5 separate regions of the Homo sapiens genome follow, and regions 1, 3, 4 and 5 are each linked to region 2. Evidence: promoter capture Hi-C in 16 types of primary human blood cells and fetal thymus (Javierre and others, 2016). All regions are on one chromosome and are shown on one strand. The core of a region is centred on a gene start or on the middle of the fragment in contact, and the rest is flanking DNA. Distances in the headings are between cores, read along the strand shown. Region 1 overlaps CCNC (cyclin C). Region 2 holds the start of SNX14 (sorting nexin 14). Region 3 holds the start of PNISR (PNN interacting serine and arginine rich protein). Region 4 holds the start of ASCC3 (activating signal cointegrator 1 complex subunit 3). Region 5 holds the start of EEF1A1 (eukaryotic translation elongation factor 1 alpha 1).

The links. The method cuts DNA at HindIII sites, captures the fragments that hold promoters and counts their contacts. A CHiCAGO score of 5 or more calls a contact.
Region 1: a fragment that was not itself captured here is called in contact with the fragment with the promoter of SNX14 in region 2 in 1 of 17 cell types (monocytes); the score reaches 6.6 in monocytes.
Region 3: the fragment with the promoter of PNISR here is called in contact with the fragment with the promoter of SNX14 in region 2 in 2 of 17 cell types (activated CD4 T cells and total B cells); the score reaches 5.9 in activated CD4 T cells.
Region 4: a contact is called between the fragment with the promoter of ASCC3 here and the fragment with the promoter of SNX14 in region 2, in 1 of 17 cell types (total B cells). The highest score is 5.0, in total B cells.
Region 5: the fragment with the promoter of EEF1A1 here is called in contact with the fragment with the promoter of SNX14 in region 2 in 2 of 17 cell types (non-activated CD4 T cells and total CD4 T cells); the score reaches 8.6 in non-activated CD4 T cells.

What each region holds. Positions count from the first base shown.
Region 1 is chr6:99,556,879-99,562,522 of GRCh38, reverse strand. CCNC (cyclin C) reads left to right here. Exons shown (of 12, transcript NM_005190.4): 3 at 842-926; 4 at 1,087-1,156; 5 at 3,975-4,026. It also overlaps the pseudogene TSTD3. Among named protein-coding and RNA genes, the nearest start is that of CCNC, 9.0 kb to the left of the region's middle. The HindIII fragment of the contact is 2,286 bases long and covers 2,164-4,449 here.
Region 2 is chr6:85,591,988-85,597,438 of GRCh38, reverse strand. SNX14 (sorting nexin 14) reads left to right here and starts at 3,581. Exons shown (of 29, transcript NM_153816.6): 1 at 3,581-3,860. The coding sequence starts at 3,721. RefSeq lists enhancers at 3,289-3,408, 3,719-3,888, 3,337-3,920, 3,921-4,504, 4,505-5,090 and a silencer at 3,439-3,658. The HindIII fragment of the contact is 2,215 bases long and covers 2,104-4,318 here.
Region 3 is chr6:99,421,261-99,426,878 of GRCh38, reverse strand. PNISR (PNN interacting serine and arginine rich protein) reads left to right here and starts at 1,571. Exons shown (of 12, transcript NM_032870.4): 1 at 1,571-1,664. It overlaps PNISR-AS1 (PNISR antisense RNA 1), which reads right to left and starts at 2,008. Exons shown (of 3, transcript NR_125843.1): 1 at 1,765-2,008; 2 at 1,492-1,655. RefSeq lists enhancers at 770-819, 712-1,006, 890-1,109, 709-1,229, 1,230-1,749 and 3 more and a silencer at 1,913-2,093. The HindIII fragment of the contact is 21,108 bases long and covers 1-2,131 here.
Region 4 is chr6:100,878,820-100,884,386 of GRCh38, reverse strand. ASCC3 (activating signal cointegrator 1 complex subunit 3) reads left to right here and starts at 3,058. Exons shown (of 42, transcript NM_006828.4): 1 at 3,058-3,326. LOC107984041 (a long non-coding RNA gene) reads right to left here and starts at 2,930. Exons shown (of 8, transcript XR_007059692.1): 1 at 2,733-2,930. RefSeq lists an enhancer at 3,095-3,214. The HindIII fragment of the contact is 1,558 bases long and covers 2,578-4,135 here.
Region 5 is chr6:73,518,870-73,524,571 of GRCh38, reverse strand. It overlaps EEF1A1 (eukaryotic translation elongation factor 1 alpha 1), which reads left to right and starts at 3,540. Exons shown (of 8, transcript NM_001402.6): 1 at 3,540-3,572; 2 at 4,516-4,689; 3 at 5,056-5,235; 4 at 5,344-5,640. The coding sequence starts at 4,546. It overlaps EEF1A1-AS1 (EEF1A1 antisense RNA 1), which reads right to left and starts at 961. Exons shown (of 5, transcript NR_187283.1): 1 at 737-961; 2 at 26-116. RefSeq lists silencers at 716-895, 936-1,075, 2,783-3,012 and enhancers at 2,735-3,557, 3,593-3,672, 3,723-3,832, 3,558-4,379, 4,123-4,422 and 1 more. The HindIII fragment of the contact is 5,848 bases long and covers 236-5,702 here.

The DNA.
Region 1 (5,644 bases), core at 2,057-4,556, about 14 Mb before region 2:
CATCCTATAGTGGTCGTTTCTCTTAGAACTTTGCTTTGAAGGGAAGAAGATGTAGGGATAGATCTTTACTCTGACATGTAGTAGGTTTGTCACATAATTTTTTTAACTTTCGGTTCACTATTTTGTAAACTTATCTTTTTTTTGAGGATTCGTTATGGATTTTTATGTATTATTTATTTATTTTGGTGAGCTGTATAAAGCTAAGTGTGGTGGCTCACACCTGTAATCTTAGCACTTTGGGAGGCAGAGGTGGGCAGATCACTTGAGGCCAGGAATTTGAGATGAGCCTGGCCAACATGGTGAAATTCCCTCTCTACTAAAAATACAAAAATTAGCTGGGCGTGGTGAGGCACAAGAATCACTTGAACCTGGGAGGTGGAGATTACAGTGAGCCAAGATCGTGCTACTGCATTCCAGCCTGGGCGACAGAACGAGACTCTGTCTCAAAACAACAAAAAAAGTGGTAGTATTAACAAGTTTCATAGGTGTCTAATATTTTCTTTTTATATTTATTATAAAGATACTATGAAAAGCATTAAAAATATTTAGAAGATAGAGGGGAAATATTTATTCAACTTCCTTAATGGATGAATAATTTTTTCCTGTGGGGCAATTTCTGTTTTGTTGTTGTTTTGTTGTTGTTTATGCATACCTATATATTTCTTAACACATTTGCAAATCCTAGAATTAGACCACTGTGACTCACATAGAGCATGTGTAGGTTTTTTCCTTTGTTAAAAATGAACATAATTATGATTTAACCACATGGAAGTTACTGTTCAATGTTAATATTATAATGATACCAGAAGATACATTTAAAATTTCATTATTTGCCTTTTAGTTATCCAAGCATTAGGTGAACATCTTAAATTAAGACAACAAGTTATTGCCACTGCTACGGTATATTTCAAGAGATTCTATGCCAGGTAGGATTGTTTTTATTTTATTTATTTGAACTCTTATCTAATGTTGATGAACCTTAGCACAGTGTAAATGAATCATGTGTCTACCATAGAGTTATCTTGATTTTTTTCCCAGTGTGTTTTCTGTATGAATGATATTTAACTTTGTTTTATCATATTTTAGGTATTCTCTGAAAAGTATAGATCCTGTATTAATGGCTCCTACATGTGTGTTTTTGGCATCCAAAGTAGAGGTATAAAACAATTTTCTGTTCTTCATCAAAGTGTAGTCAATGTATGTTGGTTAATCTGCCCCAGTTTTCACATGGCCTATGTAAAATTAATAAATGGTAATTTATGCAAAATACTAAAATTGTACAAAATCAAAGAAATATATACATATCCTTATATATTCACTTAACAGACACATACAGCACTTACTGTGTACCAACTGACTTAATCTTTGTAACAAACTGGAATACATAGTAGTAGTATTCCCATTTTATAAATGAGGAAACTGAGACAGAGATGAAGAACTTGCTTAAGATGATATAGCTAGTAAGTGTGAGAGCCCGTGTTTGAACCATGGGAGTCTCGTTACCAATCCTGTGTTCTTAACTACTTTCCTCTGCTGCCTTTGAGACATCTATTGTTTGGCACTGAGTAGTATTCAGTAAGTACCACAGCTTGCCTACCATAACCTGAGAATGTCCCTTATGCTTCTCACCCATATGCTTATCTTCTCCTGTCTTCCCTCCCATCATCCTGATGATTGGCTGCCTACCAAGCCAGAAGGAAGGCAAGGATTAGGGGAAGCTATAGCTATATAGAGTCTAACAAGTAAAAGTTGAGGTTGTGAGCGTAGAGAAATTAGGTAAGGGAGAGAAGATAGATAGGAACTTGCGGCAGAGACTGAATTTCTGTTCAACTGTTTTACCTTTGTAGTATTTTTGAAAGAGCTCAGCTAAAGTCCAGAAAATAATAGCAGATATTGGCTGTTTTTCATAAATAATGTAGTCTTTGGTGGTGTGAAATCTTTGCATTATGTTTCTATTTTTGGATAATGTCTTAGAGTTCTATTCTTAGAGTTGTATTCTTGAATATTGAATGTGATTTTTACCTAGTAAGTTTACATTCCTTTTGGCACCCACTTTGATTTAGTTTTGTTTTAGCCATGATTTAAGGTTATCCATGACATCTTTCCCAACTGTTACCTAAATAATGACAATTGACTCTGTTAGAAATAATATTAAGACAAGCTTTCTAGAAGTTTATGTTTTCTAATTGTGAGTGGTAGTTTAAGAAGGCAGAATCAGTTAAGGTCCTTATTATGGATTGAGTTTTCTAATTCTAATAATTCTATGTAATATTTGATTTTATTTAAATATTACCATGTAATAATTTAAAGTCTCTTAAGCACAGGCAGTATGGAGGACCAAGACAAAAAATCTTTATAAACATTTAATCTTGTAGATTAATTTGAGGATTTTAATCTATCTTACTTGTTAAATATTGTTATGTGATTTACTGAGTAGAACTCTGTGATGTGATTTACTGAATGAAAGTTTTCCCTTTGAGTTTTGGATAAAGAATTATTCCTAGGCCGGGTGTAGTGGCTCACACCTGTAATCCCAGCACTTTGGGAGGCTCAGGCGGGTGGATCACCTGAGGTCAGGAGTTTGAGACCAGCCTAACCAACATGGCAAAACCCCGTCTCTACTAAAAATACAAAAATTAGCCGGATGTGGTGGCAGATGCCTGTAATCCCAGCTACTAGGGAGGCCGAAGCATGAGAATTGCTTGAACCCATGAGGTGGAGGTTGCAGTGAGCCAAGACTATGCCACTGTACTCCAGCCTGGGTGACAGAGCAAGATTGCATCTCAAAAAAAAAAAAAAAAAGAATTATTCCTGAGAAAGAGAATGTAGTCTTTCAGATTTGGTCGTAGCATTATTATTATTTTTTTTTTATCTCTGTGACCAAATCTTTCTGTATTTTCTCTAGTTTTATGGAAATTGTATGGAAAGCTCATTTAAGAACATGTCTCAGGCTTTTACTTTTTCTTTTCAGTTATTATAGTTGGAGGTTTAAATGTAAAACAAATATATTAGTACACATACATTTCCCCTACACAGGATAAGGATGTAGGCTGAAGGTATTTAAATAGATTTTTAGTTTAGCTCCTTTTGTTGGATAAGAAACCAACTCTTGATTTTTTTATTTTAAAATGAAGTGAAGGCTTTAGAAATCTTACGAGGCAATAAATGAAACAGTATATATAAGGTGGATCATAATAAATTTTAGTATTTTCACAATGGTGGTTGTTCAGTTGAAAGAGGAAATGGGAACTGACTTTGGAAGTCTTACGTAATTCCTGTCTCCCTGTTCTAAAAAGGATAGTAACTATTTATATGGTTTTTTTTTTTTTTTAGTTCTTTTGGTGATTAATTAAGGTTTATCTTATTCACAAATTCAACTGTTTTACCATAGAATGGCATGAAGTATCTGTTAATACAGGTTGAATTGAATAGGAAACATACTTAATATTCTTGCAATTAAGTATAGAATGTAAACAATCTTCTTGGAAACTAATTTAAATGGAAAAACTGACACTGTAACCTTAAGGCTTGGTTTCTAATTTGGTACCTTTTATTGTTATTAAATTATAAAATTATTTTAAAATATGTCTTAAGTTGTAGCAATTTGGGGGAGAGGTAATACAGGCAGAATATCCGTAATCTGAAAATCCTAAATGCTCCAAAATTTGAAACGTTTTGAGGGCCAACATGACATTCAAAGGAATGCTCATTGGAACATTTTGCATTTCAGATTTTTAGATTAGGGATGCTCAACCAGTGTAATGCAAAATATTCCTAAATCAGAAAAATCTCTGATCCTAAGCATGTCAGATAAGGGGTAATCAGCCTGTACATTTAGGAGTGTAAGTACTTCACACCTCAAGTAGTTAGAAGGTGAACAGATTGTAAACAGGAGCAAGGAAATCCTGTTTTGAATAGAGTTCAGATACCCTTAGATTCATTGGGTTAACATGTACCTGCTTTTCTTTCTTTAGGAATTTGGAGTAGTTTCAAATACAAGATTGATTGCTGCTGCTACTTCTGTATGTAAGTGCAAAAAGTATATCTGCTTTAAGGATGTAATTCTAAAGAAAGCTCCAGAGTACATAGATTTTTTTTTTTTTAGTTTATGAGACATATGAGATTGGTTGGCTTTATTAAATTTCCTGAGGATAACTTTATATCTAGTGTATCTGGCAAAAAAATCAAGCTAAAAGGTTTTTTTTTAAAAAGATATAAAGATATTACTTTTAATGTTAAAATGGATAGTAATTATCAATCCAAAAACATCAACTCAGTGGCTTTTAATCTTGTAAGAGTAAAGAAAAAATTCTGTTTCCGAATTTTATTGTATTTTATTGTTTTCTAATGACTATTATGTCATTCTTATGGGTAGATATTAATATCTATGTGCAAACCCGTTCCTGTGTTGTTGGGTTGTTATGAGGACCAAATGAGTTAATATAAGCTTTTAGAACAGTGCCTTGCTTAGTATGTTACTTTGCTGAGGCTGCCATAACAAAATGCCACAGAACAGGTGGCTTAAACAACAGAAGCGTATTTTCTCACAGTTTTAGAGCATGGAAATCCAAGATCAAGGTGTCTGGCTATTCTTACATGGACCTTTCTGTGAGCACACACACTCCTGGTTTGCTGTCTTCTTCATGTGAGGACAATAGTCTTACAGAATTAGGCCCCACTCTTATGTCCTCATTTAATCTTTTTTTTTTCTTTCTTTTTTTTTTTTTTTTTTTTGAGACAGAGTCTCGCTCTGTCGCCCAGGCTGGAGTGCTCACTTCAACTTCCGCCTCCTGGGTTCAAGTGATTCTCCTGCCTCAGCCTCCTGAGTACCTGGGACTACAGGCATGTGCCACCATGCCCAGCTCATTTTTGTATTTTTTAGTAGAGACGGGGTTTCACCATGTTGGCCAGACTAGTCTCAAACTCCTGATCTCGTGATCCGCTAGCCTCGGCCTCCCAACGTGCTGGGATTATAGGTGTGAGCCACCATGTCTGGCCTGTCCTCATTTAATCTTATCCCTTTAAAGACCCTCTCTCCAAATACAGTCACATTCTGAGGTACTAGGAGTTAGGGCTTCAACATACGAATTTTGGAGGGGGACATATATTGGTCCACAATACTTGGTAAACTTTAGGGGCTATCATCATCATCATCATCTTCAATGACAACAACATCATTATCACTGGAAAACACTGTGCCAATGCAGTGGCATTGGTACCAAGGTAAAATACAAGGAATTTAAGGACAAAAAAAGAAGACAGAAACATAAAAATATTAATACAGAAGGAAATAAATAGTATAAGAGAGTTACAGAGAATGCTGTGAATGTTTTGGGTGGGAAAAGATTGTTTCATGAATCCAGAAAGGATTAAGTAGAACTTGGTGAAGGAAGTTGAACTGGGGAAATGCAAGAGATAGACAGTCTAAGAACACTGAATAGTTTAGTCAAATAGGGAAAGCTCATGAGTTAGATTAACTGAATGGTGAGTAAGGAAATAGTGGGGAAAACTCCTTACCTAATTTCAGCTAATAGAGGGCCTTCGATGCTAAATGAAGGAATCTGCACTTTGTTCTATTGACAGTAATGAAAGTTAGTTATTTGAGATGGAGTCTCGCTCAGCCGCCCAGGCTGGAGTGCAGTGG
Region 2 (5,451 bases), core at 2,332-4,831:
GATAGGAGGCATCTGTAAGGGAGAGACTGAAATGGCTCCCAGGGGTAGTATATCCATCCTCTTCCCGATATACCTGTGCCATACAAATAATGACCCTCAACACGTTAAAATGTGGTTTACATTAAGGGTCATCAGAGTTTAGGCCTAATTTCTGCAATTCAGGTATTCATCATTACCTTGCAAACTTACTGTACCAACATAAAAAGCATTTTGCTGGTGTGGCGGGGAGAATCAGGTTAAATTAAGTAGAAGCATTTTGGAAACTTTGCCTAGTACTTCATGACTTTTGAAAATTATAAGTGAAAACAGAGATAAGTCCTATTCTTCGCTCACATTATTTCCCACAGGCCTTTCCAGATCCTTATAGCTAAAAATTTCCCTTTTGCCATTAACTGTCATTAAAAAAAAAAAAAAAGATTACAGTCTTTATGTATAAAACCGCTGCCCTTTATAACATTTTATGTGACTTGTTTGCTTCACTAGATTGTAAGCCTTTGGAGGTCAGAAAAAAATGCATCTAAATGTATCTGCCACCACATCTAGCACAGTGCCTTACACTTATTTGCTATTCAATAAATATATTCATTAAAATAATGGACATATTACTGGATTGCAGTTTAATGTCTATGAGCCCTTTAAATGCATTATCAAATTTTTAACTTTTTATAGTTTGTCAGTGTACACCTAGCACATATGTGACCTTTGTAGCATTTATAAAAGATTTACACATTTAATTGTACTGGCTCTCCACAGCTAGCAGAGTCTATAACAGTACAGTGTAGTAGAAATATAATGCAAGCTACATATGTAATTTTAAGGTTTCTAGCTACATTAAAGTAAAAATACTTTAAGGCAATTATTTCCAAAACATTTAATATGTAATTGCCTTAAAACTAATTTTAATTTACATTTAATACAGTTTTCATGGTAAGTCTTTGAAATGTGACAGGTACTTTACACATCACAACAAACCACATTTCAAGTGCTCCCTGGCCACATGTGGCTACTGACTATTGTATTGGACAGTGCAGATGTAGAACTTTAGCGTAGGCAGTCAGCCTTTCTGGACCTCAGTTTTCCTAGAAATCAGGTATTTAATATGTCATTTTCATTTTAGATTGTCGTAATCCAAATAAAAGCTAATTGGTTTAGCTCATTATTGTCATGTTCATAAAGCCATAAAATTTGAAAAAAAAATTTTGTCTTAAGCATTGTACAGAGATATTTAAGAGGCACTTTCCAACTTTCCACCCATTTTAGCCCCCACCCCCCACCTGTTTTATGAAAATAGCTCTGTTTTAGAGTTGAGGTAGGAGTGAGATAGATCAAGTTAATCTTGCTAACATGTTGCTAGTAGGAGATAGAGCTAGTTTCAGAACCAGGGTTGGTTGATTGTGGATATTCCATATAACCTCTCCAAAGTTCAGAACTTAACAAGGTTGGGGAAAAAATTTCGAGCTCTGTGCGTGTAAAGGTGGGTTCTAGACCATAGGCTAAAGACATGTAATGAAATAAAGGTTATTTCCTTAGATGAGGTCCGTAGTGACAGAAATTGAATTATGTTTCATGCTTTAGGTGTGGAAATTCTCTGCCATAAAGAATTTCCTTATGGCTGAAGTTTATTATATTTTTTTTCCTTTTCTAATCATAAGAGCAATTTGGAAATTTAAATTATCTATTGTCCAGTTAACTTATTCTAATTGCCTCTAAGAAATCAGATGGGAAAGAAGTCTTTTAATTGGATGTTGTAGTGATGTCTGTTTTGAACAGAACTCAAAACATTTTGTCTTTAAAATATACTGGCTCTTGGTGAAAAGAGTAATTTCAAAATAAGGCTTTAAAAGGAAGCAAAAGTTTTAAACAAAAGGCAACATAATTTACCAGGCAGGTTAATAACTTACATTATTTGTCATGAGATTAGTTTTTTAAAAGGTAATTTACAAAAGTGTAAAGCACTCAAGTCCATAGGAGGCACTTGATACATGTAGATCCACTCAACATACACCTATTTTAGTATTAACAGATAAAGATACTTAAAAACTGCCAAAGTGAAATTAATAAATGTTTAAATATGTACCTAGAAATATTAAAAAATGGTAAGCTTTCCAATGATGTTACACTGTAGTCTTTTAAATGGTTTAGTCACAAACAGAAAAGTGTATTTGTGATGTTTAGACAATAATAGCTAATCGTGAGGATCAGTGAAATTGTTTACTTTTATACACCACTGTGGAGTTGGTACCACCATTCTACAAAGCAGTTTGACTGTATCAAGAATGTTTGTTTTTACCCTTTGACCCAGTAATTGTATTAAAGTTGATTCTAAATAATTAGAAATGTGCATAGGTTTATCATCAAGGATGGTAATATCAATGGACTTTAGTGGTTAGCAATAATGGAACAGGATGGTACATTCTGATAAAGGATAATAATGCATCATTAAAGATCCATGTTTTTGTAATACGGGAAAATATTCATGAAACTACATACATCATTAAAAAACATTTGTTTCCCCACTTTGAAGGATAAGATCCTAGGAAAGAGAGATGACAGGCACAGGCTCTGTCTTTAGAACGTGTTCAAATTCCGGCTTTGTTAGTTTTATGATCCTAAGTTCCTTTCTGTCTCAGTAATTTGCCTGTATAATGATTGAAACTATAGTACTGTACCTACACCATGGGGTGAATGCATGAAGGTCAAATGAAAGTGCTTAGTGTCTGTACCGCCTAAGTAAATTTTCGCGATAATAGTCTTCCTGCATCTCTCACTGTAGCGGACAATACAGAAAAAAAAATTTAGAAATGTGATGAATTAGTAAAGGGAAAACCCCATGAGACTCTATAAGAGGGATTTTACCTAATCTGCCAACCTGCCTCTTCCAAGCACTCGGATTTTGGTTGGGCTCCCGGAGCCGGCGTGAATTGAGCTCTACCCTTGCCCGTGAGCGCGCAAAAGAGATTTTGTTGGTGGGGTGGCGGCCTGATGAGTTGTAGTCTTTATTCTAGGGCTGTTTTACTCGCCACCCCCCCAGCCCCCAACACACCCCTTTTAAAATACCGACTCAAAGGCGTCCTCCTATCCCCCTCTCCCTTAGGCGTCACGCAAAGCTCGGACCTGCTCCCACCCGGAGCCGAGTGTACGGTGAGGCGCGGAGCGTTGCGGGGTCGGGGAAGCGCTACCACCCGCTCCATCCCTCTGCGGGTTCGTGTCACGAAGACTACAGTTCCCAGCGGGCTCCACGAGCTCCGGTTGCCCCTCAGGCAGCGCCCGGCGGCTACGGGGGTGCTGTAGTTTCTTCCGGGCTCCCTACAACCTTCTTCCCTCTCCTCCGCAATACAGGCAGTTACTGGGTGCTGGGGCTGTCCTTTGATTTCCGGAAATGGCCGGTCGCCAGTGTTGTCAGAGTTTCCACGGAAGACTGCGCGCTACTCCGGCCAGGAGGGCGGAGCGGCGAGACGCTAGAGGCTTTGCGCTGGGTGACGACTTCGGGCACGTTCTACGGCCGTTCCTCTGGTCGGCTGGGGACCGCGGCCGCGCACGCGCGGCGGGGGGCGTGGGGCTGGGCCCAGCCGGACGCGACCTCAGCCTGCGGCGGCTAACTGCCGGTAGGCGTCTGTGTGCGCCGCCAAGTCGGTGGGGCGGGGACGCGAGGTGTGGATGGGGGGTCGCCTTGACCTCTGCCTCAGCCAGTAGCGCAGTCTCGGCCTCGCCGTTACGGAGATGGTGCCCTGGGTGCGGACGATGGGGCAGAAGCTGAAGCAGCGGCTGCGACTGGACGTGGGACGCGAGATCTGCCGCCAGTACCCGCTGTTCTGCTTCCTGCTGCTCTGTCTCAGCGCCGCCTCCCTGCTTCTTAACAGGTAACGCCGCAGCGCGGAGCCTGGGCGGCGGCTTTTCTCCGAAGGTGCAGACGCCCGGCCCGTGCTGCTTAACCGTGCGGAGGCCGCGTAGCTGCGGGACTGGGGACCAGTGGGGAGAGCGAGCTCCGCAGAGGAGCGGCCTCGGGGAGCACGGCGGAGCGTCGAGGCCGGAAGCACAGGCCGGTGGGGTGGGGTTGATTGCCTCCTTTCCCGAGGCTTCGTCTCCTGAGCTACCTTTTTCTCATCCATTTCTCAAAACGAGTTCTTCATCTTCGTTGCTTTTCAAAAGTGAAATCCGTGTGTCGGCTCAAATTGAGACTGTACACAGGCAGTCAAGTCAGCTGACGGAGGAGTGTTCAAGGTCCAGTTCGTAGCCGCAATTTTAGGCAGAATCCGCACACCTGCAGCGCGTTCTTCCATCTCCCCACCTCCCACCCCCTCAGCTTGCAGCTGAAGCTTTTCCCGCAGTATTGTTGAATAAAACAGACGATCATAAAGATTTGTTGGACAGAAATCAGAAAGCAAAGTGGTACCCGTCCCAACATCCTTAGAATTTTTTATTTTTGAGACGGAGTCTCGCTCTGTCACCCAGGCTGGAGTGCAGTGGTGCGGTCTCGGCTCACCGCAAGCTCCTCCTCCCGGGTTCACGCCATTCTCCTGCCTCAGCCTCCCGAGTAGCTGGGGCTACAGGCGCCCGCCACCACGCCACCACGCTACCACGCTAATTTTTTTGTATTTTTTTTTTTTTTTTTTAGTAGAGACGGGGTTTCACCGTTTTAGCCAGGATGGTCTCGATCTCCTGACCTCGTGAGCCGCCTGCCTCGGCCTCCCGAAGTGCTGGGATTACAGGCGTGAGCCACCGCACCCGGCCACATCCCTATAATATTCTTAAGAGGACTTGATGCCACCCTCCCCAAAAAAACCTGAAATATTCCGAAAGGTTAAAATTGATAAATTCAATTGACATTTTGAAATCAGAAGATTCTGCCCCCGAAATAAACTTGTTTTACTTCATTTTACTATTTCAAGAAATTGTTGCGATGCAATAGGTAGTAGAGGAGACTTTTCCATTAAAATTAACACCAGATTTGCTTTTGGTGGAAAGAAATCTGAGATAGTTCTCATTGACAGCATCCGCAAGCTGTTTTCTCTGATGTTTTGAACAGGCAACCATTCTTACTCTTTATCTTAAGGTAGTTGATTCCCAAGGATAGCAACAGGGAGGAATGCGCAAGGAATTTGGTAACTTCATTTTTCTCTGGTGTAACCATTATTTGTGACTATGTTGAAGTTAGATTTCTTCCCTAAAAGTGGCCTTGCTTTCTTGTTGATTCTTGGTTTAAATATTATTGAGCTTAAATAGTAGTTGATGTTTTACTGAGAAGTGTGCTCTGTGATGGTGAGATGTTTGAACTGTAGGAGTGTGGGAGAAGTGGGATCCTTAACAGAGGGAACACTAATTATTATTTGCTTTCTGTCATCTGGAAGGTATTCCAAGCTAGACTAACAGGTTTAGTATGAAAGAAATGTAAGCTTCATATGATTTTTATTTTTATTTTTATTTTTGAGACGGAGTCTCACTCTCTTGCCC
Region 3 (5,618 bases), core at 322-2,821, about 14 Mb before region 2:
GGGTTTCACCATGTTGGCCAGGCTGGTCTTGAACTCCTGACCTCAAGTGATCTGCCCGCCTCGGCCTCCCAAAGTGCTGGGATTACAGGCGGGAGCCACCAAGCCCGGCCCATACAGTGATTTTTTAAAATCAGACTGTCCAGTAGTCTTATTTGTGCTAAGTGGAAATTAGGGAAAGGGTCAGAGAAATAGGGATTTCCTTTTGCCTTCAGTAGTATCCTCATGAACCTGCGTCATGGTGTTGTTAGGTGTAATTAATGAAGGTTTCTCACAAGATAAAATGTTATTTTGAGGACCACGTCCGTGGATTGGAGGAAAGGCAGATGGTTAGCTAGTGACGACTTTATTATAATGCTAATTCAGGAGTATCTGGGTCTCTAGTGCTGAGGAAAACTGAATTTTCATGCAAAGGGCATCTATATTTTCACATCTGTATCTTTATCCATCTAGCTGTGCTCTTACTATTTTGTTTCTACGGTAATTTGCTATTTCTTTTGCACGACAATTGCCCAATGAAATAATTCAGATACTTCGTGCACTTTGTCACGCAGAAGTTTTCATGTTACTCTCTGGAAAGGCACTTCCCAAGATGTAGCTAATAAACACTGTATCTTTGGAACATTTTTGTTTTCCTTTTAACTTGTAGCTCCTAGCCTGGAAATTGATACTTTTGACACTTGAACGTTGTTCATATAAAAACACTGTGAAATCAACATACTGTCTTTGAGGAATGGCATTGCATGCGTCCTTTTGAGAAGCCATCTTGTAGTTGAAGGAAAGCAGCAGGACGGAAACCAGACTTCCCCCCCACGGTTCCCTAAAAGTCACGGATAAAGAATGAAAAACCGGGACTAGTTAAGCCAAGGAGAGAAGAGCAAGTGTTCCCGGAAGGGGGCGCGATGTGTTGAGGTTAACAAAGAGAAAGACAGCTGCGGGGTCAGCTAAGGTCTCCGCTTTCGCTACCGACCCAGACTGCTCACCTTCACAAACTCACGTTTTCCTCAAGCGGCACCCTCGGCAGCGCTCAAGTGAGAGTATTCCATCCTTGGAATACTCCGAGAAGGTTCGAGCCAGAAGTTGGATTGCCTGAAATGCCGCTTCCAGCGCACTAAGTAACTTGAACTGCGCTAAGCAACTGGCCAGAATTGGTTTGGTTTGGTTTGACCCTGGGGTTCCTCCGTAGTCTGTAAGTGGAGTTGCGAACTCAACCCCTTCTCCAAGGCGGGAGTGTTTCTAGGAGGGAACATACTTCCCCTTAAAGGAAGATCACGTTGCTAAAGTAAAAAATTTGAAGGCGCCCTATGTGTAGAACACTTACGTTCTTGGCTTTCTGGCCACTATAAAGATGGGTCGGGAATGGCGCCAGCTACGTTAAAAAGTAACGTGCAGGAATGGTTCAGTTGCCCGGTGTTGACCAGAGTAGAGATGGTTTTGCCCACAAAAAAAATGGCGCCGAAACATGTCAATCCGCACAATCACGTGTTCACAAACCTGGATGAGAGATGGTATGGCTTCAGATGACAAACGGATGTTATTATTCTTTACTTCCGGGTGAGACAAATCGGGCGCCATCTTGTCTTGTTCCCGAAGAAGTAGAAGCATCGAAAGCGTTGGAGAGGTGTTACCGGAACGGCGGCGACAAGGGTGTTCCCGAACTAGAGTGGGTAAGTGATGGAGAACAATTATACGTGGGCACTTGCCGGACCATTACAACGTTCTTGGTTTCTGTGGCGAAGGTAGCATAACTTAAAATAGGCTGCGTACGCTGCTTGGCGCGACCGCTGGAACCTCATTCCTTTAAAGCGCTGCGGTCCGCCAGACTTGGTAAATCAGAGCGCTGCTTTCGCTGAAAAGGAAATGTCCTTGTTAAAGAGAGTGCTCACGGTCCCATCTTCTCACAGAGTTTCCTCTCGGACGAGAAGGGACTAATTGTTGGGTTCCTGACCGGCCGTTAAACACTGCGCGTGCGCAGTGGGAACCCCCTTGTGGGAAGGGGGTTCATGGGGGCGGAGGAGGCGGGGGCTCGCGACCTGGAGCTTATACCCTTTGAGGCTCTGACTACGCAGGCGCAGTTCCTTAGTTTGTGTTTTTCGTGTGTTCTTACCCAATGATGGATATTATGTGTTAAGCTTCGCTAAAGGTAGTATCCAATATTTCAGTTTTTTACCCTGTGGTGGATAGTATCGTCATCTGAACAAATTGAGCATTAGACAAATTTGTTTGTGGGTTGTTAAATTAACATTCTAGCTTAAGATTTTAATTCAACATTAATCTTTTACATCTTTTTACTTCCCCCTGCCCCCAAGTAAAACAAAATAAACTTAGAATTCCTCATTTGAGTGCAGCAGGGCGAAAACAACAGCAACCAGACTACTAAAGATTTTACTTGTGGAATTTTTTTGTAAAGTGGCAAAGGGCTTATAGAGAAAACAGTTCTTTAAAGATGTTCTTGAGAGTTTTTTTTTTTAACTTACTAATAGACTTTATGTTTTAGAACAGTTTTTGTTTACGTTGAGCACATACGACGTCCCCACTACACACACAGTTTATCTTCTTATTAATAGATGTTAGTATGGTACATTTGTTGCAACTAATGAACCAATAATGATAAATTATTAACTAAGGTCCATAGTTTATTCCTACTTCCTCACATTTTACCTAAAGTCCTTTTTCTGTTCCAGGATGCCAGCTAGGATATCACATTACATTTAGTTGTTGTATATTCTTAGGCTGTATATTCTTGGCTGTGACAGTTTCTCAGGCTTAACTAGTTTTTGATGACTGTTAAGGGCTGACTTGTGCCCCTCTAAAATTCGTATCTTGAAGTCCTAACCTCAGTACCCCAGAACGTGACTGTATTTGGAGAGAGGGTCTTTAAAGAAGATGAGGTCACTAGGGTGGACCTTAGCCCAATATATTAATAACTGCTGTCCTTATAAGAAGAGAGTAGGATACAGAGGGATGATCATGTGAAGACATAGGGAGAAGACAACCATCCACAAGCCAAGGAGAGAGGCCTTAGAATGAAATCAACCCCATAGAGCTTACACTATACGCCTCCAGAACAGTGAGGAAATAAATTTCTGTTGCTTAAGCCACCCAGTCTTTGGTACTTTGTTATGGCAAGCATACCAAACTAATACAGTGACCTTGACATTTTTTGAGGAGTATGGTCAGGTATATTGTAGGGTGCCCTGCTATTGGAATTTGCCAGACGATTTTCTCATGATTAAAATGGCCTTACGGACTATATCAGGGGAAGATCACAGAGGTAAGATGCCCTTTTCAACACATGCTATCAAGGATACATACTATCAAGGTGACTTATCACATTATTACTGACCTTGATCATCCTTCTGGAGTAGCGTTTGTTAGATTTATCCACTGTAAAGTTACTTCCCCCACCCCTTTTTATACTGTTCTCTTTGGAAGGAAGTCACTTTGCAGAGCCCACGCTTACTGAATGGACAGTTGTGCTCTTCCTCAGTTAGGGTGGAATATTTACATAATTTATTTGGAATTCTCTGTGGGAGATTTGTGTCTTCCCTCACATTTATTTGTTAGTTTATTTTATCATATCCTTATGGGCTTGTGGATGTTTATTACATAACTTATATTATAATCCAGTACTTCTTTATTTTGTTGCTCAAATTGTACCAGCTTTGGCCATTGGCAGCTCTTCGAGTTGTCTACTGTTCTCCTTTGACATGTTCCTATCAATTTTTTTTTTTTTAGCACTTTATTGCTTCCTGGCAGTATACATGCCCCAGACTCATCTTTTATATTTCCTGTCGCAGTCCTAGAGTCAGCTATTTCTTTAAAGATCTCTGATTCCTTTTATTGAAGAATGGTATTAAAACCAAGTTCTCGTGCCTAGGTGTGCTTGTTGCTACTAGGGTGTCATTTTGGGCGCTCTCGCTACATTTATTTTTAAATTATTATTGGGGGGGTATTTATAACCGACTCTCCAATTCTCCAGTTTTTTTTTTTTTTTTTTTTTTTGAGACAGAGTGTCACTCTGTTTCCCAGACCGGAGTGCAGTGGTGGCACAATCTTGGCTCATTGCAACCCCTGCCTCCCGGGTTCAAGTGATTCTCCTGCCTCAGCCTGCTAAGTAGCTGGGACTACAGGTATATGCCACCATGCCCAGCTAATTTCTGTATTTTCAGTAGAGTGGAGGTTTCGCCATGTTGGCCAGGCTGGTCTCGAATTCCTGGCCTCAAGTGATGAACCCACCTTGGCCTGCCAAAGTGCTGGGTTTACAGGCATGAGCCGCCATGCTTGTCCTCCACTTTTAAAATAGTCTTTTGAGCTACAAGCTGCAAGTATTTCAGTATATACTAAAATGCATGTCACATAAAGTAGCAAAATTTCTGTTTTCCGTATTTCGAATGATTACAAGATTAATTTTTACCAGTGCCATTTCCACCTAATCTGAATTAAACAAATAAATTCTTTTTTGACTTTGAGGTCAGTCAACTCATGTAAGACTGAAATGTCAGGGGTGAAGAGGATTGTTGTATTTTCTGGCTTCTCAGCTTTGTGGTTGATTTGAGAAATATTTCATCCTATGCATCAAATGATAGATGTGTTTCTGTAGCTCTTTGATTTTGTAGTTGATGCTCAAGGACTTTAAAATACCACATTTTAATTCTCATCCATCTCTGTCACAGTCTCTGAGTGACTTTTGTAAATATTAATGATTGTCATTTTGGCCACACGGGGTGGCTCATGCCTGTAGTCCCAGCACTTTGGGAGGCTGAGGAGGATGGATCATTGAGGCCAGAAGTTTGAGGATAGCCTGGGCAACATGGTGAAACTCCATCCCTACTAAAAAATACAAACATTATCCTCGCGCGGTGGCATGCACCTGTAGTCCCAGCTACTCGGGAGGCTGAGGCATGAGAATTGCTTGAACCTGGGAGGTGGAGGTTGCCGTAAGCCGAGATCACACTGCTGCATTCCAGCCTGGGCGACAGAGTGAGAATTTCTCAATAATAAATAAATGATTGTCATTTAAACAAGTTGTTTTAGGACCTCAAAGCGATGAAGTTCTAATATAGATACATTTAAGAAAAGGATAAAATAGATGATGGCCATTTCTGGTTGTATTAGTTTTCTAGGGATATTGTAGCAAATTACCACAAACTGGCTGATTTCAAACAACAGAAATTTATTCTTCCACAGTTCTGAAGGCTAACAGTGTAAAATTGAGGTTTTGGTAGGGCATGCTCTCTAATGGCTTTGTAGGGGATTCTTGTCTCTTCCTAGCTTTTGGTAGTTCTTGTCAATCCTTGATGTTCCTTGGCTTATAGAGCCATCTACTCCCAATCTGTACCACTGTGGTCATGTTACATTCTCCCTGTAAGTGTCTTATGTCTCCTTTTTAATAAGGTCCCTCCTAATCAAATATGAACTCACTGTAATTTGAATACATCTGCAAAGACCCTATTTACAAATAAGGACATACTCACAAGTATCACTTGATACTCACAAGTATCAGGAGTTAGGACTTCAGTGTATCTGTTGGATGGGGACACAATTCATTCCATAACACTGGTGATAGCTATCACTTGATTTTTTTGCGGCAGTGTGTGGTGGCTTTGATGATCTGATAC
Region 4 (5,567 bases), core at 1,809-4,308, about 15 Mb before region 2:
CAGCTGTGAGCCACCACACCCAGCCATATGATATATTTTTAAATGCAATGTGGAGTTTTGTTTTGTTTTTCAATTAGAGATGGGGTCTTGCTCTGTTGCCCAGACTGGAGCTGAATGGCATGATCATAGCTCACTGTAGCCTCAAACTCCTGGCCTCAAGAGAGCCTCCAAATTCAGTCTCCTTGGTAACTAGGACTACAGGTATGTACCATCAAGTCTGACTATTTTTTTTCTATTTTTTGTAGAGATGGGGGTCTTCCTATGTTGCCCAGGCTGCTTTTGAACTTCTGGCTTTAAGTGATCCTCCTGCCTCAGCTTCCCAAAGTACTGGGATTACAGGGGTGAGCCACTGCGCCTAGCCCACTGCAATGAGTTTTAATTGGTTTCCCAGCCATGCACTAATTTCAACCCACCCTACCCAATATTGCCAAAGTAATCTCCCAATCCCATTTTGTGACTGCCAAACACTGACTGCCTATTATACTCAATTCTTTAAATTTAAAATTGAGTCTCCTTATAGACTAGTTTGTTTACATTTTAACTTTGTCACTACCTTCTATTAACAATGTTCCATTACAGATAAATAGGTTTTCATTATCTAGAATGCAGTTATAGTCTTGTTTCTTGTCTTTGCTCATGGCATACTTTCTGGACGGTCTTTCTCTTTGTCATCAGGGCCATTTTCATTAGGTTGTCTTTCCACTAACATTTGGGGAAGCTGGGCTTGATGGCAGGTACCTGTAGTCCTAGCTACTTGAGAGGATGAAGCAGAAGAATCATTGAGCCCAGGAGTTCACGGCTGTTGTGCACAATGATCATGCTTGTGAATACCCAGTGCACTTCTGCTTGCGCAATACAGCAAGACCCCATCTCTTGAAAAAAAAAATGGGGAAACCCTGGGGACTATAAAGAGGACAAAGATAGCTCTTAGAGTTCAATGAAGTAAGACCATCCCTCAGTGTCCACAGGGGATTGGTTCCAGGACACTCCCACATACCAAAACCCCAGGATGCTCAAGTCCTTACACACAATGGTATAGTATTTGCATACAAACTATGCACATTGTCCCATATACCTTAAACCATCTCTAGGTTACTTATAATACCTAATACAATGGGAAATGCTATGTAAACAGTTGTTACATCCATATTGTTAAGGAAATAATGACAAGAAAAAAAGAGTCTGTGCGTGTTCAATGCAGACATTACCATTCTTTTTTTTTTTTTTTTTCAATTGTTTTTGTTCCAAAGTTGGTTGACACATATACAGAAGCCATGGATACAGAGGGCTAACTGAATTTCCTTCCAGGCCAGGACTATGTAATACAAATATGATGCAAGCCACCTATGTAATTAAAAATTTTCTAGAAGTCACATAAAAAGTAAAAATAAAGTTGAAATTAATTTTAACATATTTTATTTGATCCATTATATATTATTTCAACATGTAATCGACATAAGAATTACAATATTTTACATTTGTTTTCTAAGTCTTTGAAATCTGGTGTACATTTTGGACTCATTGCATGTCTCAGTTTGGACAAGCCACATTTCAAATGTCAAGAGACGTATTTAACTGGTGGCTACCCCAATGGATAGGGCAGTTCTAGGTAGTCTATTTTCAGTTCCTCTCTTCTCCCTTAAGCCTCTGGAACTGTGATGGGAATAATCTGTCATGTGAATTCCTAGCACTTATCAGCACCTCTCATTATCACTTGGCCTCCTTGCATTATTTATTTTTGTGATGCATTTGTCTTGTCTCATGAACTAACTTGTAAACTCTATGAAGTCCAGGACCAAAGACACATGTAATCTCAAGACTGGAAATATCTTTAACAAAACCATCAACTAATTATTCTGTTGATGTGTGGCTCCCCTGTACCAAGTCCCTATTAAGTGAGCTTCAGAATCTCCTTGAAGCAAAATTCTGTGGTTGAGGTATTCACACATGCTAAGGTAGGCAATTCTTTGGGTCGTGCTACAAGGGCATCTTCTTTTCAGGATCTTAAATCTGTTCCCTGAAGTTTGCATCACATGAAACAAATCAACTTCACATGATAGGTCATTTCATATTTGGAGAGAGTCCAGTAGTTTTCTCTCTTCTAGGTGAGTCCTGGAAGGTTTAATCAATCCTTCTTCACTTGCCCTGTTTTTGAGTTCTCGTCATCATTTTGCTCTTCCCTGATATAATGCCAGCTTGATTAAAGTCTTCAAATGCTGAACACAGCACTTCAGAGGTGGTCTGACCAGTAAAGACAATAACTGGATCACTATTGGCTGCCTCTACAAAACAGTTCTACCAGGCATCGGGGCACATTACCTTGAGGAAGCGGGAATGGCAGAAGAGAGCCACAACAAACATATTAACTCATACTATCTTTGCATTGTTGGCTTTTAGTCTAGAACTCTTTGCAGATAAACCACACAATTCTTTAGGTTAGTTTTTCTTCGTATCTTCCTATCTTTTCAATCGAGTTAGGGAATCTTTGGGCTTTCTGTTTTTGGAGGAGGTCTTCTGACCGAAGAGCCGACTTGCAGAGATCACTTTGAGGGAACTAAGCTGAGAATCCAGAAAGCTTATGGAAAACAGGCCTTGACACCAGAGAACCATGTATACTCTCTAGCAGCCAGAGGGCTTTGGCTGAAAACGACGATAGCAACTACCTGTTTCTTCATTCAAATTGCTCTCCTTTCCTTTACCTTTAATAGGAATTATTTCCTCCACATATTTACCTTACAGAGAAGGGCGGGGAGAAGACGCGGCAGACTGAAGTAAATGCAGGGAAAAAACTCACAGGTAGAGAGGTAGAGACGGCAGGCCTGGCCCGTTGCGGGCAGCCAGGGTAAAGTGGAGCGTCCCGCTCCCGCCCTGGGGCGCATCCTCGCCGCCGCCGGGACCTTCCGCCTCTGCTCCTCCGAACCCAGCGGACTAGAGGCTGGAGGCGGGAGGCGGAGCGGCGCGCGCACGCGGGCGGGGCAGAGGGCCCGGAGTCGACGAGTCGACGTGCCGACGTTGGCGCTGCAGCGGGGCGGTGACGTGTAGGCCGGCGCCAGCTCCACTCTGTCCCTCCTCGCCGGGTCTGTGCGTCTTTGCGTCTGTCTGTCTGACTGATGGTCCTCACACGCGGTTCCCTGTGACTGGGCGCGACCCCGGCAAGCGCGGCTTGGAGGGCGGACGGGGCGCGGCGATACAGCTGCCCGCTCGCATCTTTGGCCCTGCGCTCAGCTCCTCACCCGGCGTGGGAAGTTAAAGTAAAACCGAAAGGGAAGAAGGCGCGGTGGCAGGAGCTGACAGAGTGATGGGAAACGCGTGAGCCAGGCCGAGAGGTGAGGAGGTGGAGGTGGAGGTGGGAGGACGAGAAGGGTCGCCGCGGCCAGGGGAGCTGGCTGGAGGCGGGGACGGCGAGGCGGGCTACGCGACCCGCCAGAGATTCTCTTCCTGCCTCCGGGGCAAGTCCCGACCTGTCATCCTTTTCAGTGGCATGAGGTCGAGTCCGGGGTCTCGCAACAATACCGCCCATTCCTAGAGTTTGTAGGTGGGGTTGGGGATAGAAAACTTAACCTAAGCTACATATTGTCCAAGTGTTAAGCCACAACGTGACCAGATGAGGTTTTTCTGTCCCATGCATGGGTAATTTGTTTTCTTTTTTTCTGTTACAAAGCCTTGATAACTTCGTTTTCTTCACGTAGATTTGGGGAAAGAAATCTTCCTCATATTTTTCCCCCAACACACTGGAAAGTAAATAGGTAGCTGACCGTGATGGATTGTGGGTGAATTTCGCAATCAAGGAGCCTATAATGTCATTTTGAAATAAATAAATGTGTATGTGGGTGCTAGGGAGGTTTTGTGAGTACTGGGCAGTCATTTCAAATAGGTTTCTTATAAATTAACTTACTCATGGAATGCAGTGTGCTAATGGTATTTGCTATTCTTTGGTTTAAAAGAAGCATAATTCTAGGGGCTGGTAAAAGTTTGATGTGTTGTCACTTGTGCATTCAAACTCATGGTTACATTTTCTTTCTTTCCCTAGGTTAGGTGAGATTGACAGCCATTTTCTCCATCACCAGATTTTATGTTTCATAGATTGAAATCCTTTTTCTGATTCTCAAAGTTCTCAAATGTTGAGAATTAAGCTTTTGGTTTTACTATGGATTGTGCTCCAGTTTATGTTGTCTCTTTTTTTTAATGATGGTTATAATAGTCTTGCATGAGAAAAATGATCCTTAAAGATGCTCTTAAGCTTAGGCTAAATAATCCTATTTATATGAGAAATTAATTTTTCATGGTTCAGCTTTCTTGATCCCTGCTTAACAGTTTTTTGTCATTCATTCATTCAAGTCTTCCTATGTGTCAAACGCTGGGCTAGGCCTAGGAGAGCAAGAGAGAGACAGTCTCTGTGCTCATGAACTTTCTATAATCCAGCAGCCTCCTTTTAAGACAGAATCTTGACTAGGGTTCTTTCTCATGCCATGGATCTGTAGTTAACCAAAACAAAGCTTTTAAAAGAAAAAGTTATTGTCAATGTATATATGTAATTGGCATTGAAAGGGGAACAGATGATCTTGCTTTAACAGCATGATTTGATATTGCCTTTGATCAAAAAGTAGTATATGTACCAGTGGTTTGCCATTTCAGAAGAGTAAGTTTTTCTTTTTCAAAGCTTGTTTAAATATAAAGTTCACAGTTCTACCTCAGTTTCTACCTCAAAAAAAATAAATAAATAAAAAGCTTTTTCTTTTGAGGTAGAAATCAGTTTCTTTCCAGTCTTCACTTTGGTCTGATTGATCTCCTGTGTATCTCTGGAACCCCTAGGCTCAAGCAGTCCTCCTGCATCGGCCTCCCAAAGTGCTGGGATTACGGGCCCCATTTTGCCTTTTTGTATGCTAATGAATTGACTAAGAATTTTGTCTTAGCTAGCTGGCTGCTCCTAGTAGCTTCAGGATGGGGGCTGGTTACCAGAAAGGTCAAGGAATTATTAGAAGGTTGGGACTTTCATCCCCACCCCCTAACTGCTTAGGGAGGTGAGAGAGGGGCTGAAGATTAAGTTGATCACCAGTGGCCAAAGGGTTTAATCAATTATGCCTATGTAGTGAAGCCTCCATAAAAACTCAAAATGACAGGGTTCATAAAGCTTCTGAAAGCTGAACATGTGGAGATTCCTTGAGGTGGTGTGCCCAGGAAGTACTTGGAAGTTCTGCATGGAAATTCCCTTCCCTTATAAATTACCCTATCCTATGTATCTGTTCATCTGTATCCTTTGTAATATCCTTTATAATAAATTGGTAAACGTGTTTCCCTGAGTTCTGTGAACCACTCTAGCAAATTAACCGAACCCAAGGAGGGGGGTCATGTAATCCCCAATTTATAGCTGGTCAGTCAGAAGTACAGATAAAAAAGCCTGGAGCTTGTAATTGGCATCAGAAGTGGTGGGCAGTCTTGTGGGATTGGGCCTTCAATCTGTGGGATATGACAGTATCTCTAGATAGTGTCAGAAATGAATTGGAGAACACTCATCTGATGTCTGCTGCAGAAGTGATTGTTTGCTTGGTGCATGGGGAGAAACTCAT
Region 5 (5,702 bases), core at 2,291-4,790, about 12 Mb after region 2:
GGCCAGGCTGGTCTCGAACTCTTACCTCAGGTGATCCGCCTGACTCGGCCTCCCAAAGTGCTGGGATTACAGGCGTGAGCCACCGCACCGGGCCATCATCTTTTCTTCAGAGGTAGCTACAGCAGATGAAAAGATTTAAAAATCATTTTCACGTGGCAAGCCATGGTAAAATGTAACTATTTAAGGCTGCTTTAAATTAGACTAATAGCAGAGTGGTCAGACTATACTGAAAGCTTGGTGAATCACAATTAAGTACCTCAAAGAACTATTCTTGTTTGCCTTATTCCTATGTAAATAACTGAAATCTTTGTTTTTCTTCCTAAAAGGGGTCATGTTGATTTTTACTTACAATGTATTTTAAGTTTGTCACTCTAAATGGTTATGAGCAAGTTTAAGAAAAATCTTCAGCAAATACTACCTTAGATTATGACCCCAAAACACATTTACGAGCCTCAACATCGTTACTGTTACCGCTTTAACATTTAAGGCAGTAAAAAGCATACTGGATCTCTGTAAAGGCGTAGGGGTGCGGGGAATCCGTTATGATTATGTTGAAAACATAGGGTCTGGGGAAAAAGGGATTTAAAATAAGAAGAAAAAGAAGACTTGGGACTTAAAAAGTCTTTTAGAGGCCAGCTCACGGTGACAAAAACCGACCCTCACCCCGAGCCACGTGAGGTTTTCTGCTTCCTCCCAGGCCCTTCCTTCCGCAGTCAGAAGGCGGAAGAAAAGTTACCTCAAGGTGGGGCGAGTGGCAGGGCGGACCCTGGCGACCTGACGCTGCGGAGGCTCGAGCGGCGTATCCATACCACCCAGCTGTTCGCCGCGGGAACCCGCCGGCCCGCAGGTGACCCAGCGCTGGAAAAACGCCAGCGACGTGGCCTGGCGAGCTGGCGCGGGGCAAGGACCACCCGCGCCCGCCTTGCCGCCCCAGCCTCCCTCCCTAGGAAGCAGGGTGCGCCCCGGTGCGCGCGGGGCTTCCCCGGACCGGCGTTCCAGTCCCTCTCCGGCTTCCGGCCCACCCCGGCCCCACTGAGAGCAGAAATGTGATCTCTGCCCTGAGAAAATGCTCGTGGCCAGTGACTACCCCTAACGCACAATAATATGGCTCCGATGGGCTCAAAGGTATTGGTTTTTTGTTTTGTTTTGAGACAAGGTCTCACTCGGTCGCCCAGGCTGGAGTGCAATTGCGTGATCTTGACTCACTGCAACCTCCGCTTCCCGGGCTCAAGCGATTCTCCTGCCTCAGCCTCCCAAGTAGCTGGGATTACAGGCATGCGCCACCACGCCCGGCTAATTTTGTATTTTCAGTAGACAGGGTTTCACCATGTTGGCCAGGCTGGTCTCGAACTCCTGGCCTCAAATTATACGTCCGCCTCGGCCTCCCAAGGTGCTGGTATTATAGGCGTGAGCCACCGCGCCCGGTCCAGTGTTGGTTCTTAAACGCGAGAATTGAGATCTCCCTTCACCTAATGAAAGTCTCGGCCACTATCGCAACATTCAGAACACCCAGTCTGTGTTGCACAATATGTTACTTAGGTATAAATCAAGGATTCATGTAATTTTGTCATTCCTTGCGTGATATTTTAAAAAACATTCTGTGTAAGGTATTTATAAAGCGTTTACTATTATCCGCAATCACAGGGGCTTGAGGAAAAACTTTGACTGTGGCCGGGCACCGTGGCTCACGCCTGTAATCCCAGCACTTTGGGAGACCGAGCCGGGTGGATCACTTGAGGTCAGCAGTTCGAGACCAGCCTGGCCAACATGGTGAAACCCCCGTCTCTTCTAAAAATACAAAAATTTGTGGGGCGCGCTTGTAGTCCCAGCTACTTGGGAGGCTGAGGCAGGAGGAATCGCTTGAACTCGGGAGGCAGAGCTTGCAGTGAGCCGAGATCGCGCCACTGCACTCCAGCCTGGGCAACAGAGTAGAACTCCGTCTCAAAAAAAAAAAAAAAAAAGAAAGAAAGAAAAAAAAGTGGACTGTGAAAACTGAAAGGACTAGAAAAACTACACTACAAAGATACAGAAACCAAGAAAGCACCATAGCGTTTGCCTTCAACTGCTTCCCAACTTGTTTTCCTCTTCCAATTTGATTGTGGTTTCCTCTCCAGAAGGAACTCCACAGTACTTAGCGTTGGCCACATAGTAGGTTCTCAAATACTTGTTAATAAATAAGTTTGTTCGAGAAGCTGGGCAATGATATTCTACAGCTGGAAGAAGAAACATAATGATCTAGTAATTAGCTCATTAAAAATAAACGTTCTTCTTTCCTCAGAGGAGCATTTCCCAAGGCCTGCCTTGATAGCCATCCAAAAAGGCCAAGCTCATCCAATCTTGCCCTAGATTTATGCTAAAATGCAGTTACAATCGATAGGATGACAGAAAACGACAGCACTTATTTAAATATAATAGGCACTTATTTAAATAGGAGAAGCTGTGACTTCATAGCAAGTGTTGGGGTTAGGAAACTGGGTGGATAAACTTGCTGATGCTGTAGATCTTAGCCTCTACATGAGATCATGTGGAAAATCTGAAAGCATTTTAGGTTCCTTATGTTTGCAATCAAATAACTGTACACCTTTTAATTTAAAAAGTACCATGAGGCACACACACACACTCGCAGGAACTTTTTGGCGTAACAAAACTAGAATTAGATCTAAAGCTAACTGTAGGACTGAGTCTATTCTAAACTGAAAGCCTGGACATCTGGAGTACCAGGGGGAGATGACGTGTTACGGGCTTCCATAAAAGCAGCTGGCTTTGAATGGAAGGAGCCAAGAGGCCAGCACAGGAGCGGATTCGTCGCTTTCACGGCCATCGAGCCGAACCTCTCGCAAGTCCGTGAGCCGTTAAGGAGGCCCCCAGTCCCGACCCTTCGCCCCAAGCCCCTCGGGGTCCCCGGGCCTGGTACTCCTTGCCACACGGGAGGGGCGCGGAAGCCGGGGCGGAGGAGGAGCCAACCCCGGGCTGGGCTGAGACCCGCAGAGGAAGACGCTCTAGGGATTTGTCCCGGACTAGCGAGATGGCAAGGCTGAGGACGGGAGGCTGATTGAGAGGCGAAGGTACACCCTAATCTCAATACAACCTTTGGAGCTAAGCCAGCAATGGTAGAGGGAAGATTCTGCACGTCCCTTCCAGGCGGCCTCCCCGTCACCACCCCCCCCAACCCGCCCCGACCGGAGCTGAGAGTAATTCATACAAAAGGACTCGCCCCTGCCTTGGGGAATCCCAGGGACCGTCGTTAAACTCCCACTAACGTAGAACCCAGAGATCGCTGCGTTCCCGCCCCCTCACCCGCCCGCTCTCGTCATCACTGAGGTGGAGAAGAGCATGCGTGAGGCTCCGGTGCCCGTCAGTGGGCAGAGCGCACATCGCCCACAGTCCCCGAGAAGTTGGGGGGAGGGGTCGGCAATTGAACCGGTGCCTAGAGAAGGTGGCGCGGGGTAAACTGGGAAAGTGATGTCGTGTACTGGCTCCGCCTTTTTCCCGAGGGTGGGGGAGAACCGTATATAAGTGCAGTAGTCGCCGTGAACGTTCTTTTTCGCAACGGGTTTGCCGCCAGAACACAGGTAAGTGCCGTGTGTGGTTCCCGCGGGCCTGGCCTCTTTACGGGTTATGGCCCTTGCGTGCCTTGAATTACTTCCACGCCCCTGGCTGCAGTACGTGATTCTTGATCCCGAGCTTCGGGTTGGAAGTGGGTGGGAGAGTTCGAGGCCTTGCGCTTAAGGAGCCCCTTCGCCTCGTGCTTGAGTTGAGGCCTGGCTTGGGCGCTGGGGCCGCCGCGTGCGAATCTGGTGGCACCTTCGCGCCTGTCTCGCTGCTTTCGATAAGTCTCTAGCCATTTAAAATTTTTGATGACCTGCTGCGACGCTTTTTTTCTGGCAAGATAGTCTTGTAAATGCGGGCCAAGATCTGCACACTGGTATTTCGGTTTTTGGGGCCGCGGGCGGCGACGGGGCCCGTGCGTCCCAGCGCACATGTTCGGCGAGGCGGGGCCTGCGAGCGCGGCCACCGAGAATCGGACGGGGGTAGTCTCAAGCTGGCCGGCCTGCTCTGGTGCCTGGCCTCGCGCCGCCGTGTATCGCCCCGCCCTGGGCGGCAAGGCTGGCCCGGTCGGCACCAGTTGCGTGAGCGGAAAGATGGCCGCTTCCCGGCCCTGCTGCAGGGAGCTCAAAATGGAGGACGCGGCGCTCGGGAGAGCGGGCGGGTGAGTCACCCACACAAAGGAAAAGGGCCTTTCCGTCCTCAGCCGTCGCTTCATGTGACTCCACGGAGTACCGGGCGCCGTCCAGGCACCTCGATTAGTTCTCGAGCTTTTGGAGTACGTCGTCTTTAGGTTGGGGGGAGGGGTTTTATGCGATGGAGTTTCCCCACACTGAGTGGGTGGAGACTGAAGTTAGGCCAGCTTGGCACTTGATGTAATTCTCCTTGGAATTTGCCCTTTTTGAGTTTGGATCTTGGTTCATTCTCAAGCCTCAGACAGTGGTTCAAAGTTTTTTTCTTCCATTTCAGGTGTCGTGAAAACTACCCCTAAAAGCCAAAATGGGAAAGGAAAAGACTCATATCAACATTGTCGTCATTGGACACGTAGATTCGGGCAAGTCCACCACTACTGGCCATCTGATCTATAAATGCGGTGGCATCGACAAAAGAACCATTGAAAAATTTGAGAAGGAGGCTGCTGAGGTATGTTTAATACCAGAAAGGGAAAGATCAACTAAAATGAGTTTTACCAGCAGAATCATTAGGTGATTTCCCCAGAACTAGTGAGTGGTTTAGATCTGAATGCTAATAGTTAAGACCTTACTTATGAAATAATTTTGCTTTTGGTGACTTCTGTAATCGTATTGCTAGTGAGTAGATTTGGATGTTAATAGTTAAGATCCGACTTATAAAAGTTTGATTTTTGGTTGCTTCTGTAACCCAAAGTGACTAAAATCACTTTGGACTTGGAGTTGTAAAGTGGAAACTGCCAATTAAGGGCTGGGGACAAGGAAATTGAAGCTGGAGTTTGTGTTTTAGTAACCAAGTAACGACTCTTAATCCTTACAGATGGGAAAGGGCTCCTTCAAGTATGCCTGGGTCTTGGATAAACTGAAAGCTGAGCGTGAACGTGGTATCACCATTGATATCTCCTTGTGGAAATTTGAGACCAGCAAGTACTATGTGACTATCATTGATGCCCCAGGACACAGAGACTTTATCAAAAACATGATTACAGGGACATCTCAGGTTGGTGGGATTAATAATTCTAGGTTTCTTTATCCCAAAAGGCTTGCTTTGTACACTGGTTTTGTCATTTGGAGAGTTGACAGGGATATGTCTTTGCTTTCTTTAAAGGCTGACTGTGCTGTCCTGATTGTTGCTGCTGGTGTTGGTGAATTTGAAGCTGGTATCTCCAAGAATGGGCAGACCCGAGAGCATGCCCTTCTGGCTTACACACTGGGTGTGAAACAACTAATTGTCGGTGTTAACAAAATGGATTCCACTGAGCCACCCTACAGCCAGAAGAGATATGAGGAAATTGTTAAGGAAGTCAGCACTTACATTAAGAAAATTGGCTACAACCCCGACACAGTAGCATTTGTGCCAATTTCTGGTTGGAATGGTGACAACATGCTGGAGCCAAGTGCTAACGTAAGTGGCTTTCAAGACCATTGTTAAAAAGCTCTGGGAATGGCGATTTCATGCTTACACAA